Linked DNA regions of Homo sapiens: region 2 is linked to region 1. Evidence: promoter capture Hi-C in 16 types of primary human blood cells and fetal thymus (Javierre and others, 2016). All regions are on one chromosome and are shown on one strand. Each heading gives the region's core, a stretch centred on a gene start or on the middle of the fragment in contact. The rest is flanking DNA. Distances are from core to core; before and after follow the strand shown.

Region 1 (7,868 bases), core at 2,395-4,894:
ACGAGGGTCTCCCATGCAAAGGTCTAGCACTTCACAAGTTTAGAACTAAACATAATCTCCGCAGAAATAGCTACAAGTGGCACAGACATCAAAGGAAGCAAATGGGGAGGAATGGAAACAGAGCCTGATAAATGATGTAACTGAATTTGCCCTTTGCGGGGCCCAGCTGGACTCCCGTTCTTCCCTGGTTATGACAATGGTCACTGTGCCCCGGGATCCCCAGAGAGCTGGGGTGAGACTCAGGGTAATATCCCTCCAAAGCCTTTTAGGAAGGCTCGGCCACAGATTCAACGCAAAGTGGTAATTACATACGTTTTAAAAATCCATTTCACAGGGCAAGCTAATAGCTGCATCTGAGAAGAAGCCTTCATTCGTGGCCGCCCAGCACCAGCGGCTCCTGTCCCAGCCTTGGAGATTTGGGCAAAAAGTTAAAGCATGCTCAAGAAATAGCTCAAGGTTAGATTAAAAATCAAAACGCCAATGAAGATTAACCTGACTCATTAATATCACTGCCCAATAGGAGACAAATCCTTGGAGGGCGAGGCTTGGGGCCGGGTTTTGTTCTAGGCCTAGGAGCATCTTAATTTGCATTTATATTAAAAAAAGAAAAAAAAACAAACAGAATTAACTGGAAAGGTGCTTTGTTTCCTGTAAATTTGAACTCTTGTGCTAAACAGCTTCTTAGGGCAGAGAGCGGAGGCTCGATCAGGCTTCGTCCAAGAGCGTGGATTCCGTTCCTACTAAGTGCCGGCCACACTGTGCCTGGCAGCTGCAGCCCGCGGGATCTCAGCTGGACCTTAAAAGTCAGCCTGTCAGGTAGTTATTGTGAGACATCTCTTCTGCAGGTGGGGAAACTGAGGTCAGGAGTTGGGAAATGACCTCTCTCTGGTCTTTACACTATGGCCGAATTCAGATTCCAAGCCAGGTCTGTGGGTTCCAAGTTGAACATCTTTCCACAACAGGACAGCTGTGTTAGTGTTAGAGCTGTCTTTTATTCACATACACATACACACACACACACACACACACACGCGCGCGCGCGCACACACACACACACACACGCGCGCACACACACACACACACACATTTTTTTCCCAACCTTTCTTTCCAGAAAATCAGTGGAAAGCCCAAAGAAGGAAGCGAGGAAAATCAGCGAATTCCTCAGATGGCCTCTGGTCCCTTATTCATACAAGTCCCACAGCCCCTGAGGCGAAGCCGACACCCTCCATTTAGCTACACTTCCCTTGACAGCTTCTCTTTGGAGTTTTAACCGTTACAGGCATACACCCAGAGCTACCAATCAGAATCAACCATGGAAACACACCTCAGTAAGAACTTCATCAGTCTCCACAATGCATTTCTTAAGGAAAACTGGCACATTTCAGAGTTTGCTTTTAACACCAATCCTCTCCTCGATGTTGTCGCTCAACTCTCGGGATCAGCCAAGCATTTTATGTGCCTGTTTTACTACTGGAAGCCAGCATGCTAGCCAAATTCACCTGTCTTCCATCTTCAACCCTAAAGGCATGTTTAAGGGCCTTGGGGCTTTCTCCTTTCCCCAGGGGTGGCCAGTTTCAGAGGCATATTTCTTACTCTCCAGCTCTCCAGCAAACAGGCCCCTGTCTCCCAGAATCACTGCCCTGTGCATCTGCGTGCCACTGCCACAGTTTAAAGCCAGAGAAAATGGCAATGACTGGCCCTCTCAGAAGCTGGAAACACAGTGTGGGAAGGGAAGGAGTCATCTGTGTTTGGGGTGCTGGGCAAAGGGCGTGGGGCAAGCAAGAGCCAAGCTGATTATGTAGATAACAGAAGGACAATTTCCTTCACAAACAGAAAAACCTGCACCAATGAATTAAACATTTAAAACAAGATGACTCTCTAAAAAGTATTTTCAACCAAGAAGGAAAGACAGGCCGTCCTGTGCTGGCGCTTCCTGTTGCATATGGCACTGAGAAATCCTTTTTTTTTCAGTATGCAGAGATTTCCAGACAAAGAAAAATATCAAGAGGGAAATTAGAGGAGGAGGTCCAGAGAAGCGAGACAGGAGGAGCTGGGAAGAAGGGAGGGGGGAAGGAGGAGGTCCCTGCCCAGGGCACAGGGGTGTGAAGCCCTGAGGGGTGCAGGAAACAGACCACCCCCACTAACACACTGGCCTTGGCAAGTCCAAGGAGATGGCCCTAGAGAGGCAGCCTGCCTCACTGGGGCAAGTGAACCACAGAGACACCACCCTGCCTCCTGCCATGCAGGGTATCCACCACGTCCACCCGAATGAAGGTACCTGCCCCAGCTCCCACAGGTCTCCAAGTATAACGTCCGGGAGTCCTCCCAGCCCCCAGCCTTAGAGGGGACACTGCCCTCGGGACCGACCAGAGACCCTGCTCTGTGAATAGCGCCCTTGGCAGTGGGGCTGGCGGGCATCCCTGCAGTTTACCAGCTGGACCCCCTCTCGTGACTGGGGCTCAAGTTCCCTGGTTTCTGGGCAATGTCTAGACTGGCCTTTCCCAGTGTCACAGCCTAGGGAGTGGGCAGGTTCTGCCCTGCCCCCACTCTCCACCTCTACTGAGAGCAATTGAGGGGCTGCCACCCCCAACGCAAGCACCAGAGAGCAAACTCTCTCCTCCCAGGGGCCTGGGAAGTCCAAGCTCCAGAACTGGAACTCAGGGGAAAAAAGGAGCCGGGCGGGGGGAAGAGAGATGAAATCTGAGCTCAGAGAAGCCTGGAGCGGGGCCCAGGGGCTACGGAGGGTCAGTGCCTCTCACGCCCCAGGCGCACTCCCCTGCCACCTGAGTCCCTCTAGGAGCCATGGGTGCCAGGCCAGCCCTCTCCAACTCCCAGAGAGGTAGTAAGTGTAAGGCTCAGAGCCCCGCGCAGCCCAGCCCGCGCCGGGGCGGTGGGTGGGTGGGTGTCTGCTATGGGATTATTCTTAGCGCTCCACTCTCTTCGCAAAAGTGGCGCCTCCGCCCTCCCGGCTCAGGCACACTCGCTCGGGGCTCGCACGCCCGGCCCAGACACCAGCGCGGTGGAGAGCACCGGGTGGGGTCCCCGAAGGGTGAGGCTCGGAGGCGCCGCGGAGGGGGGGCTCCCTAGAGAGGAGGGGGCGCTGCGGGAAGGCCCCCAAGGGAGGCTGCGTTTAACCCTCGACGCCCTGCACCCAGCCCGGCGCGGCGCGCTCAGCCGCCTCCCCGGACTCCTCCCGGGGCGCGGGAGCCCAGCGGCGCGCCCAGCCCTTACCTATGGTGGTGATGACCGTGATCGCAAAGTAGAAGGAGCCGGCGAATTTCCACTGGACGCCGGCGCGGTGCGGTTCCGACTGCAGGATCACCAGCTCCAGCTGCCGGTAGTCCTCGCTGCTGATGTTGTACTTCCCCTTGATCCGGATCTCCTCGGCTTTGAGTTTCTCCTCCTCGCGCATCTCGTGGTCCGACTCGAGGGCGTCGAACACGGCGGCGCCCACCAGCAGGTAGGTGAAGGTGCAGACGATGAGGGACAGAGTCCGCACGTTCTGCCTCTTCATGGCCGCCAGCAAGGAGCCGGCGCGGGGGGCATGTCCCGCAGGCTCACAGCCGCGCGCGTCCCACTGCAGCGCCCGGCGGCCGCCGCCGCCTCCTCCTCCGCCGCCGCCGCCGCCGCCTCCAAGTTGTAAGCGGCGGCGGCAGCAGCAGCAGCAGCAGCGGGGAGGCGGGGGGCGGGGAGGCTGGGGGGGGCCCCCTCCGCTGGGGCCGCCACAGCCACCGCCACCGCGAGGCGGCTGGCGGGGCAGGGGCGGCGCGGGCCCGGGCTCAGCCGAGAAGGCGGACAGGCACAGGAGGCTGCTCGAGCGCCGGGGCCAGGCGTCCGGGAACCCCGACACCCTGCGCCAGACCCGGCCGAAGCAGCCCGCCCCACTGCGCAGGGCCATGCAGGGCGGCCCCGCTGGGTACCGCGCGGGCCTTGCTGCCCTCCGCACCCCGCCCCCCGCTCCCGCGGGAAACGCAGGGACGGGAACCGGAGCCAGAAAGCGGCCGGAGGGCGGCCGCGGGGCCCGGTACCCCTGTGGGTCCAGCTCGCGGGTGGCGGTGCCCAGCAAGGAGCCTGCAGGTCCGCGCGCCCAGCGGAACCTGCTTCCCCTTTTACCCCTCCTCGCCCCCTCTCGGTGGTGGGGAGGAAAAGTTTGCGAAGTGGCGGTGTCTCTGGAGTCCCCTGCAAGCGGGGAGGGGGCCGAGCAGGTGCAGCGGGAGGGGCAGCCCGCTCCCCAAAGGTCCGCGCGCCCAGCGCCCACCCGGGCGCGCGGGTGCGCAGCGGGGTCCCCGCCGGGCGTCGGCCGGTGCGCGAAGTTTGCTCGGCTCAACCCCCAAGGCGCGGGAGCGGGGCGCGGCCCCAGGACGGCAGGGACCGCGATGGAGCGGCTTCGGGGGCGGCCGGGGGACGGCGCGGTGGCGGTCGGCCAGCCCGCTCCTCCGGGGGCGGCGGGCGCGGCGGCGGCGGCGGGAGGGGTCCCGCGGGCCTCGCGGAGCAGCGGGGCGGACGCGGGCGCATGAGCCGCGCGGGGGTCGGGGCCCTCCGGCGTCCGGGCGTCCCGGGAGGCGGCCGCCGCGCTGGTCTGCCCCGGGCGCTACGTGCGTGCGCGCCGTTGGGAGCCCGAATGTGTGTGTGCGCGTGTGTATGTGCGTGTGTGTGTGTGTGTGTGTGTGCGCTTGGCAGCCCCGCTCCGGCGGGAGGGCCTCGGGGAGCGGGGGCCGGGCTACGCCGAGGCCGGGCCTCCCTCCCTCCCTCCCTCCCGCAGCCTCCAGGGCGCGCCACCTCCCGCCTGGTCCCCAGCCAGCTGGCGAGGCTGCTGTGGCAGCTCCCGCTGCAGACCCAGCGCGGCGCAGGGCGCACGCGGAGGGAGCCCGGGAGGGGCGGCCTGAGCCGCCAGGGAGGGGGCGGGGGCGGAGCCGCCGGCGGGTTTTGGCGGGGGATGGGAGGATAAACGCGGCTTCTTGGGTCCTTCTAGCCCCGCTCCCCAAGAGCGCAAGCAGCCCTGGCGGGTGGAGAGTTTGAGGGACTCGGGGTTGGAGGAGGAAAACGGGATTCAGCCAGAGATGGCAGGCTGACAGCTTCAGGCAGATTGGGCAGAGAGTGGGGAGCAGAAGGGGAGGGGGCCATGGGCACACAGGAGAGCGGCAGCAGCGGTTCACGAAGTCTTCCCCACCCCCCACCCCCCACCTAGCCACCCGGCGCGGGAGCGTGTCATTGGCCAGGGACATGGCCTCGTGGAGTGGTGGGGTCCCGAGGGCTGCCTCGGCCCCCTCGCCTCCCAGCGGCACAGCCCGCTTGGGCCAGCACCTGCAGACCCGAGTCGTTTCCCTGGAGAGCGCTAAGGACAGCATGGGCCGCCACTTTTGGAGTCAGGACAGCGGGGAAAGACATCGCAATCCCCCGACCCAGTAACCTCTCTGTTGCTTTACTGAAGGAAAAAAAAAAAATACACACACACACACACACACACACACACACACACACACACACACATATATATATATATATATATATATATAATCACTCTTTGATATATATAATCACTCTTTGGTTCCCCACAGCTGGGCGCAAGGTGCGCCGTGGATGCAGCCCTGAGCCACGCGATAGCCCCCTCGAGACCACCTGGGGTAGGAACACGAGGCTCGGGCTGGGGCGCACCTATTCCCTGCTTCCAGATGAGCCCTCTCCAGGCTTTATCTCCTTCCCATTTTGGCCTCCTTTACCTCCTCCCCCTCCCCGCCCTCTCCCTTTAGGCTATCGAGGGGCTTTTCCTTGACCTTCGGCTTCCTGAATCCCGCCTGGAGCCCTGGAGCTCCAAAAGGACAGACCCAAGCCTCAGAGACCCCTGGGCTCCTCTTCCTCTCCTGACCCCAGCCAAGGAAGGGATGGAGATGGGAAAGAGTTGCCTGGCGGCAGGCTAGCAGCTGGCCAAGGGGTGGCTGGGGAATCAGACCTAACCCTCGGGCAGCTCGCGGGCTCCAGGAGACCAGTCCCTTCTGTGGGTCGCCCCCTGGAGCGGTGCTCGGGCTCCCTGGCCTCAGGGACCCCGGGCCCAGAGGGTCTGGGACCCCAGTGATTCACCGAGGCCTCCCAGCTGGGACGCTCTGCACCCCACTTTCAGGGATCACGGGTGCCCACCAGGGAAGGGGAGCCCGCGCTGTGGGCTACGTCTGAGCCGTCAGGTCCTCGCTGGGTCTGCGGGCGCCCTGGGGCGAGGGAGCGGGGAGCCCTACCCCGAGCAGGCACTCTCCCCAGATTCATTTTGGAAACCAAGGCCCCCGCGCTCGGCAAGTGAGCCTGGCTGCCGGGTGAGTCACCGCGAGCGGGCGACAAGGATTCCCAGCAGCTGGTAATTAATTGCGCCGTGGCTCAGCCCACGACGGAACCCCAGTCAGGCCTCCCGCCGCCCTGGCAGCGGCGCCACCCCTGAGTCACAGCCGTCGGGCCTCCGCGCGGTCCGGAAGCCGCCTGCCCGCCTCGGCGCCACCAGGGGGCACTGGACTCCGACCCACGCGGCGGCCGCGCAGCCGGCCTCGCTGCGGGGAAGTCCAGGCTGTCCCCGCGGCAGCGCGGGCGGGGGAGGGGCGCGCCGGCAGACGCCGCGCTCTGCAGAGCCACTTCGATTTGGTTTACGGAACTCCATTTGCATACAGCCTTTCAGGAAAGCGCAACCGCTGTATGAGTACTGGAAGGACCTCTGAGATGAATTACTCCAAACCCCTTGTTTTACAGATGGGAAAACTTCCAGCAAGACAGGATCACGTGCCCAGGATCCCACAGTGATTCCGATGTGGAGCCAGCCCTGGAAGCCTCTCCGTGGCTTAAGGACCCCCGCTGCTTTCTGGCCCCAAGCTTAGAGTGCCTTGAGTGGCCACCTACCAGCCCCCAGACCCTGGTTCTTCCTCTCTTCCACCCGTGGGAATAGACCCGTGGACTCAGGACCTCCCAGGCAGTGTCTGAGCCGTGGAAGCAGAGGGTTCCTCGTCCGCCCGTCCACACCCCACATGTGCCACTTTCCAAGGCGCTGGACCTGCGGGTGGAATGGGAGCTCCTGGGAGCAAAGCCTGGGGCTCAATCAAGCATCCTCCCTACATCCCCAGCATCCATCCCGGATGGTGTGTGCCACACAGCAGCCCAGAGAGTCTGGCTGGGGGCAGCGCCTCTGCGTGCCTGCCTCCCTGGCAGCCCGGGTGGGTCTGGGTGTCCCAACTCTAGCCCCACCTCGAGAAGCGTGTGGAACTGAGGTGTGGCCAATCAGAGTCCAGAATTCCCCAGAGCCACGGTGATTGGCTGGATTTGGACGTGTGAAGGCCCACCTCAACCAATCAGAGCCCTCCTCTGGGTAGGGCTGTCAGCAGATAGGTGACCTGAGGAGGGAGGCGGGTCCTTCCCGACTCTTTGAGAACCCCAATGCAGGCACGTGGCGCACACGCGAGCCACCCAACTGGGGTGAGCAAGTGCATTCTCTTGTGGGCTTAAGCCACAGTCAGTTGGTCCCAAGCCTGTCCGGTGCTCCTGGTGCCCATGCGCTGTGTTTACAGCCTGTCTGCGCCCTCCAGCAGCCCCAACATGGGCCTCCCTTGGACCTCAGTTTCTGTAAAAACAGATGTACCTTATTAGCTAATAAAGAACATCATGGTTTTATAACTCTATCTGCTTGCTGCCTACTTGTTTGCTTCATTCTTTACACACAGTGGGTGTGCCTGCAGCCCCTGTTCTTACCCAGAGAGGCCCAGCAGTTTATCCTGGTCCCACAGTGAGTAAGGGAGGACCCAATTCCCAGGCCAGTACTTCTTCCACATCACCGCAGTGTGTCTGGGCCAGGGTGGGCTGTCTGCTGCTCCACGACATCCTGATTCCTTGGTATGTTC
Region 2 (7,779 bases), core at 4,526-7,025, 520 kb after region 1:
AATAGGTCTGAGGGGTGGGATTTCCAGAATTGCTTAGTGGGAAGCTTGGCTAAACCTCTGCCCAAAAAGCAAAGATGCAAATGGACAAAGTCATCAAGAACAACCATTTAAAGATGTTCAAACTGACCAAAGGCATACAACAAATTGAGAAGCATTTATTCATGACAATCTCGTTAATCTTGGTAAGAGCAAGGGAGACTGTGGCATTTTAGACAGGGGCTGGTTCCACTGCCCCTGCTACTCCCAACTCCTTGGCACACAAGTTCTACCTGGCCAGGAGAGACAAGCAGAAGACTGTCTGCTGCTCTGCTACCTGCTGGAAGAGGCTGACTTTATTTGGATCAGAGGGTGGAAAACACATGTCCAGGGGTGTTGTCAAAAATAACAGTGGGAGGCCAGGTGTGGTGGCTCACATCTGTAATCCCAGCACTTTGGGAGGCAGAGGTGGGTGGATCACTTGAGGTCAAGAGTTCGAGACCAGCCTGGTCAACATGGTGAAACCCCGTCTCTGCTAAAAATATAAAAATTAGCCGGGTGTGGTGGCGCACGCCTGTAATTCCAGCTACTCTGGAGGCTGAGGCAGGAAAATCGCTTGAACCCAGGAGGCAGAGACTTCAGTGAGCCGAGATCGCACCACTGCACTCCAGCCTAGGTGACAGAACGAGACTCCCATCTCAAATTAAAAGAAAAAAAAAAACTGGATTTTAGGAGGAAACAGTCAGGGAAGGTAACACTGCAGCTGGCCTAAAGTCACAAAACTAGTTGGGGAAATGATAAAACAGCAGACCCGCCAGAAATTCAGCAGGAAGAGCCAGTGAATGAAAGAGCACAGAAGGCCTTGGTGAGACCCCAGTTACCCCAGTGAAACCGTTTCTATAAACTTTATACAATAAATCAGGGAAGAAAGGAAGGGGAGAAGGAAAAACAAAAAAGCCTGCAGCACACTCGGCGATCATCGCGAGGGCAGCCTGCCCGGCCTGCTTCCTCAGCGCTGCCGGAGCCTGAATTGCCCCAGAATCACACAGACCTTGCTCCAAGACCCTAGTTCCCCTAAGAGCTCCGTCGATAGCCGCTTGAACGTTACAAAACGTTACGTTTTCCCTTTGAGATAGTCCTTCCGGTCCCGCATACCAGTGTAACTACCGACATCTGCTGGCCTGAAGGACCCCACTTATGCCAGGTGTCTGAGGGACCTCACGGAGAGTTAATTCATCAAAGAATGCAGTTTCCACATCCTGATGTTTCATCCCCCTCACCACAACCAATGACCCCAGCTTTTCAGGTCCTTACCTTCCACGACCCCCTTATAACCCGCAGCCCAGAATTCCTCAGGGAGATGGGTTTAAGGGTCTCCTCCCACCTCCTCGTGTGGCTTCCTGCTGTCATTAAACTATCTCTTCGCTGCAAACCCTGCTGTCTCCATGTCATGGGTCTGCTACTATACACGGGGCAAACGAGCCTGTTGGTCCCACAACGCTGGAAACCTGGGCAGCTGTGCACATGCACAAGCCCTCACACGTTCAGGACAAACCAGAGAGGGCCCCCATGAGCCACTGACCCTGGCTCAATGTGAGGCCTTGTGAATTCAGACGAAAGAAACAGCCCTGCAGTTTGACAGCAATCCCCAAGGCACGTGCAGATCCATCGGGGAATGGTGGAAGGCCTGCTGAACTGAAGCATTTCAGCACAACCTCTAATCAGACACTGGCTGCCCACAAAGCTCCAGGGCACCTGGGGCACGCCCTGGGAATCCAGGCAAGCAGTAAAAACAGGAAGGAGAAAATCACCAACAAAGCAGAGACGTCACACACTGAGGAAAACAGACTCCACGAAGGTAAGTCAAGGCAAGTTGCAAAACTGATGGACAAACAAGAAGAACAGCAACACGCAGCGCCAGGGGAGGGTGGTGGGGCTCAGCCTCCAACTTGCTACGATCCATTACCTAAAAGATCCAGCTTTCCACAAAAAATTATGAGACATGCAAAGAAAGTCTGCCTCAAGCCCACCAGACAGCACCCTCCCGTACTTGGTAGCTCCGTGCATGTGCCGTGCAGTTGCACTCTGGGGCCTTTGCTGCCTCTGCTGGGAAGCTTCTCCCACACCAGTCCCCTTGGCTAACCCAAGAGCCCAGCAACACAGTAACCAAGCTGCCGTGCAAACAGAAGCTCTCCAGGAATGGGGCACTCCCCGCTACCAACAACCCCCTTCTTTACTGCAGAGCCCAAAAGGGGAGAGGACTCTTCCCCTAAAACTAGCTCCTTCCAAGTTCAATCCACTGACATGACCTCCATCAACCAGAACTGGCCTATTCCTTCTTGCCATGACCTCATCAGATAGCACCCCATGCTCCTCCACCCCTCCTCTTGGTTGAGTGACAGCAGCTCCAATGCCTCAAAGTCCACTGTATCACTGACTCACAAGCATCTTGGCCAAGCGATTCTGATGTTCCTAACCAGTCCCTGCCCTCTTAAATTTGGCATGAGGACTGTAAACAGCATCCCAAAGGCTGGTCCTGAACACAAGTGTGCCTGAAAGTGACATTGCCGCCTGCAGCCCAGTCACAGCTCTTAGGCCCTGCAGTCCTCCTGCTCTACACGCTGTCCCTGGGCCAGCTCAAACAGCCAGAGCTTCCCATGTGCTGAAGACTCAAAACCCCGGAGCACTTGTGTAGGCCTCTCCACGGAGCCAGCAGCCACCTCTGCTCACTGCTGGCCTACAAGCCCGCGGCACGTAGCTTTGCACTGACATTCACTTGCTACCGGCATATCTGTCTTGGCTTCCTTGGTGCTTCCAAACCAACAATTGGGAAGGGTTGCCAAAAGATTAAGAAAAATGTACAGGGTAAACATCCGAACTGAGGTATGCAATAAATAAACTTTTCAAATGAATAGAGAAACGGCAGGAGAGAGTCTGCTTTAATCACCGCACGCCTGGATTCAGCCCACGGAATCTCCGTGTTCCAAGGACATAAGAGTTTGCAACACCAAACAATGCACTCAAGCTTCACTGTGACGGCTTTCCAAAACATTGTCCAAGAACAAAGAATACCAAGAATCCAGCTTTCAAATACACATAGCCTTTCCTTTCTGAAAAGGACTCAGAGCTGTGCTTCAGAAACGGCTTTGCAGAAGCCCGAACGGCACGTGGCAGATGCCGTCTGCCATACCAACTCACCTTCACGTGGCTGTAGTCGCCTGCTTTGTTGCTCTCGGGTGGGTTCACAGGTTTGCCCTCCACTCGGGGCCGAACGACCTGCCGAAAAGGACTGGACAGGGGAAAGCCACTCACACTGATTCCATCTACAAAATAAGAACAAAAATCATAAGTAACACGTCAGCTTGGTTTTGGGGTTTGTTGTTGTTGTTGTTGTTTGGGACGGGTCTCGCTCTGTCGCACAAGCTGGAGTGCAGTGGTGCAATCTCTGCTCACTGCAACCTTTGCCTCCTGGGCTCTGGTGATCCTCCCACCTCAGCCTCCCTAGTACCTGGGACTAAAGGCGTGCGCCACCACACCTGGCTAATTTTTGTATTTTTGGTAGAGGTGGGGTTTCACCACGTTGCCCAGGCTGGTTTTGTTTTTGTTTTTGTTTATGTAGGGGATTTTGTTCAAAAACTGTGACTGTAAGGAGCATGCCAGTTTCTGTCCTGACTATTCTACCTTGTATCAGTTACAGCTGCCTGATGTGTCCTCCATAAGCACATATTCACATCTACTATGAGTAAAAGCTGAGAGTGCATCAGTCCTTAAAAAGGACAGCTCCTTACCACCTGGATGTGATGACCAAGGCCCCAGCCTTCCCTCTGCGTTTGGACCACGCAGAGCCCATCTCTCTCCTGGGCCTCTGCTGAGCCGCTCCTCAGGCTGGAATGAGTTCCCCTCCCTTCGTGCAGCCAGCTCTCTCTTGCCGCTTGACCTTAGTCTAAGTGCTACCTCCTCACCCAGCTTCAAGCAGCCACCACTCTCTGCCACAAGACCCTACTTAAACCTCCGAGGAGCCACACTCTGCCATCTGGGTTTTTTTCTTACTTGTTAACAGTATCTATCGATTGACGGGTCTAACCCACGAATCATCTTTAAGTCCTCTCTGCATCTCACGTCGCATGTCCAACCCAAAAGGAAATCCTGCTAGCTCTGAGAGTATGTCCAGGGATGGCTTTCGTGGTTCGCACCAACTCAGAGTCACTGTAGTTTTCCTCCTGGCTCTTCTCCCCCGTTGCCTTCACTCCTTTCCCTAAGTCAACTCCCCACACAGCTCGCAGAGTCTCCTGAGGAAAGGGGGCTCACACCCTGCCCCTAGCACTCAAGAGGAAATGTCAAAGTCTGCACTGGTCTCCAAGGCCTCTGCATGATACACCATTTAACAGAAGAGAAGACCTGGCGGAATGAATGAGATATTTGACTGCAGTTTTATATATTCTCAAGAACGTAAAGATACTGCCTCCTGAGGAGTTATCTTCAAGTAGCTGCAGCTCCCTAACAGAACCCAGCTGGCATGCGGGAGAAGTCTACCTATGAGTATGGCGAGTATCACAGACTTCCAGTGTAAACCAGGCCAAGAGAACAAACCACCAGAGGCAACTTGTGCAAGAAATCACGTTCATACTGATTTTGACTTAAGATACATGCAACAGCAGAGACAAAAGAGCAAATGGTAGAAAGTGAGGTTGGTAAGATGTGGACTCACATCAGTATGACACTTTATGCTTTCTAAACTTGCCCTCGTTTTATTTATTCTTTCTTTTTAAGTTCCAGAGTACATGTGCAGGATGTGCAGGTTTATTCCATAGGTAAACGTGTGCCATGGTGGTTTGCTGCACCTATCAACCCATCACCCACGTATTAAACCCAGCATGCATTAGCTATTTTTCCTAATGCTCTCCCTCCCCTCACTCCACCCCACAACAGGCCCCAGCGTGTGTTGTTCCCCTCCCTGTGTCCATGTGTTCTCATTGTTCAGCTTCCACTTGTAAGACAGAACATGCGGTGTTTGGTTTTCTGCTCCTGCGTTAGTTTGCTGAGGATAATGAAACTTGTCCCCATTTTAAAGAACAGCAATAAACAACCTGCTCGCAGTCATACTGGCAGTCATTGATCCTAGGCATCGTACCACACATGAATGGATGTTTAGTAAACTTGATTGGATGGATGGATGGGTAGACGGGTGGCAAGTCTGAAACTCACACTCGGTGCTTTTGATTCTAAGCCTAGGATCCTTTTCGCTTTAACACAGTTGTTGGGAAAGAAAATTTCAATGGCTGCATATCTCAAACGAACCCATCTAAGTAACTTCTTATTAAGAAACTAAAGCTTCTTGTGATAAGATGAAGAGTATTTACTTTTAATTGACACAAAATGTATATTTCCAAATTCGCAATAACTTAGGCCCATGGCCCTATGCCTAATATCTCTTTGCAAAAATATGCAATTAACCAAGCATAATAGAAATAGTTCATAATTTAAAAAAAAAAAAACAAAAACACTTCTCTTAAGCATCATTTGCTAAGGTATGTCCCCTTAAGTAGTTCAATTTTCAGGATGACAAACAATATTCAACTGGGTAAAGAAGAATTAAGCAATTTTCTACTTAGAGGCTTCAAATCTTCAAAAGCTAAATTATCTTACGTTAAAAAATAGTCTACTTGAAAAGTCCATGGCACCTTATGCCCAAAATAGCACATGAAGGAATCAGACATTGTGCATCTACAATAAGAAAAATGACAAACTGATCTGTTTCTGTTGGTGGTGCCTATGGAAGACACGTATGAAGACTGTGATCAAGCACTTAAGAGCAGGGTCCTCTCTGCACTTAGAAGAAAATGGAGGTGCCCAACTGGCCCCTCTTCAAGCACTGCATGTGGGCAGCAAAGGTCCACCTGATGTCCCACAAGCAGCTCAGGCTGAATAGGCATGAAATGAACTTCAGAAGATTCTACTCCTCATAACAAGCTAGACAACTCAGACCAGCTCAGCCACTGAGAACAGCTAGAAAACATGGACAAAGTAGTCTTAAAATCCATGCAAGCATCAGAGAGCTAACAAGAACTACAGGGCTACTGTCTAGCAGAGGGGGAAAGACAGAGACATGAGCCTGACAAACATCCCCTAGAGGTGCCTGCAGATTTCAGAAGAGTTCACCAAGAGAATCTGAGCAGAATCTGAGCAGAACCTTTGACATACTCAAAGGACTCGATGTGAAAAACAGTGGTGTTCAGTGTTCCCCATGGAGAGTGGATAGCAAATCTGGGAAGCTTCAGGTAGGGCCACAAAGCAAAGGGTAGACCGTAAATAAAGCAGCCCTCACTGGGCCTAAGGCCCAGCTTTGAACCATGTCAGTCCCTGCAACTGGTAGGCCATTTTTCTACCAGAATTTATTCCTTGTCACTCCTTGTTCTACCCCCATTTTTTTTTACCTTTATGTATTGGTAATTCTCTTCCCTCTGACAATCTGATATCCTAATATGCCCCAATTTTTGGTCTCAGTTCAAATGCTACCTCTTCCATAATGCCTCCCCTAGCTGTCCTAATGGAAAGCAAGTACGTCTTCCTCAGAGTTCCAGCATCTTCTCTGTCCTGAGACCCGTGCCTACCTCCTGCTGATCTGTATACATGCAGAGAGCCCGGTAGGAGATCAGAGGGGTCGGGGCTGAGGTGCGGCTCCCCTTCTACCTGGCTGAATGAACTTCATCAAGTCAAATAACCTTCTACAAGCTTTAAATCCATCATCCCCTAAATGGGAATAATTAGAACACATATACTGTGAGGTTATACAGAAGAATAAACGAATTATTGCATAGGAAGGATTTATCACAACGCCTGGTACGGGGCAAGCATTCAGTAAAAAGAGCTGTTCTTATTCCTACTGCAGCAAATTATGCATGTCTTACATTCCTTCATGACTACAAACTCCTTGAAGACTGAATTCTTGTCAGATTCACCATTATGCCCCTCATAGTAGCTGATGCAGGCTCTAACAAATTGTAAGCCCTCAGTAAATAGTAACTAAATGAATGAATAAATTACAGGGTCAAATCCAGTATTTAGTTGACACGCACACAGTTTACACACACACGCTCAATAAAAATTCCATCATCCCAAAGTCACATTCAACAACCAACTCCTGGTTAACTGAAATTTCATCAGGTAGATATGTGCGAAGACTTATTTGTAAAGACTCAATCAAAAGCTGTTAAGTTTGAATGAGTTTATTTTCTCTCTTTTTTCTCATTTCTCTCAGCACCATGGACACAATTTATAAAATCTCTCCACGACACCATAATGCCTGCTGTGAAGGGTACTAGTATTATGAACAGAGCCATGTGCAAAACGTAAACTCCACATTTCTCTAGCATGTTACCCCAGGAACCAGGTCAAGCGGACCTCTAAGCAAGCATGGTATGAAAGACCACTCAATGTGACTTCACCCAGTAAGCCGTCCTCTGTTGAGTGAAGGCCAGGTGCCCAAAGGGGTATTTTTGCCATCTCATCTGTGTGTGTGTCTGTGTGTCTCTCTGTATCTCCACCCCTCTCTCTGACATATACACAGGACCCGTAATACAGCCTGGCCAGCTCCTCCCGAGGGAAGGCTCCCATCCTTCGCAAATTACACCAACGCTTTTATCTCCTGAAGGACCCAGATTCTTTTTGTTTGTTTGTTTTTGCCTTGGAAATACCAATCCTATTTTACACTTATAACAATGGTAAATTCTTCATTTCTGGAAATGGTCAGAAGTTTTGGCCTGTAGAGGAAAGCAGAGTGAACATCTGGCTTTTGTCTGCCCA

What was found. Contacts are between HindIII fragments. The CHiCAGO score rates a contact against its expected background, and 5 or more counts as called.
Region 2: a fragment that was not itself captured here is called in contact with the fragment with the promoter of KCNK9 in region 1 in 3 of 17 cell types (M0 macrophages, M1 macrophages and non-activated CD4 T cells); the score reaches 5.7 in M0 macrophages.

The regions. Positions count from the first base shown.
Region 1 is chr8:139,699,479-139,707,346 of GRCh38, forward strand. It overlaps KCNK9 (potassium two pore domain channel subfamily K member 9), which reads right to left and starts at 3,645. Exons shown (of 2, transcript NM_001282534.2): 1 at 3,232-3,645. The coding sequence starts at 3,514. RefSeq lists silencers at 3,368-3,662, 6,371-6,740. The HindIII fragment of the contact is 15,596 bases long and covers 1-6,847 here.
Region 2 is chr8:140,218,285-140,226,063 of GRCh38, forward strand. It overlaps TRAPPC9 (trafficking protein particle complex subunit 9), which reads right to left. Exons shown (of 23, transcript NM_001160372.4): 17 at 3,175-3,299. It overlaps LOC124902029 (a long non-coding RNA gene), which reads left to right. Exons shown (of 2, transcript XR_007061118.1): 2 at 3,668-5,076. Among named protein-coding and RNA genes, the nearest start is that of PEG13, 120 kb to the left of the region's middle. The HindIII fragment of the contact is 941 bases long and covers 5,306-6,246 here.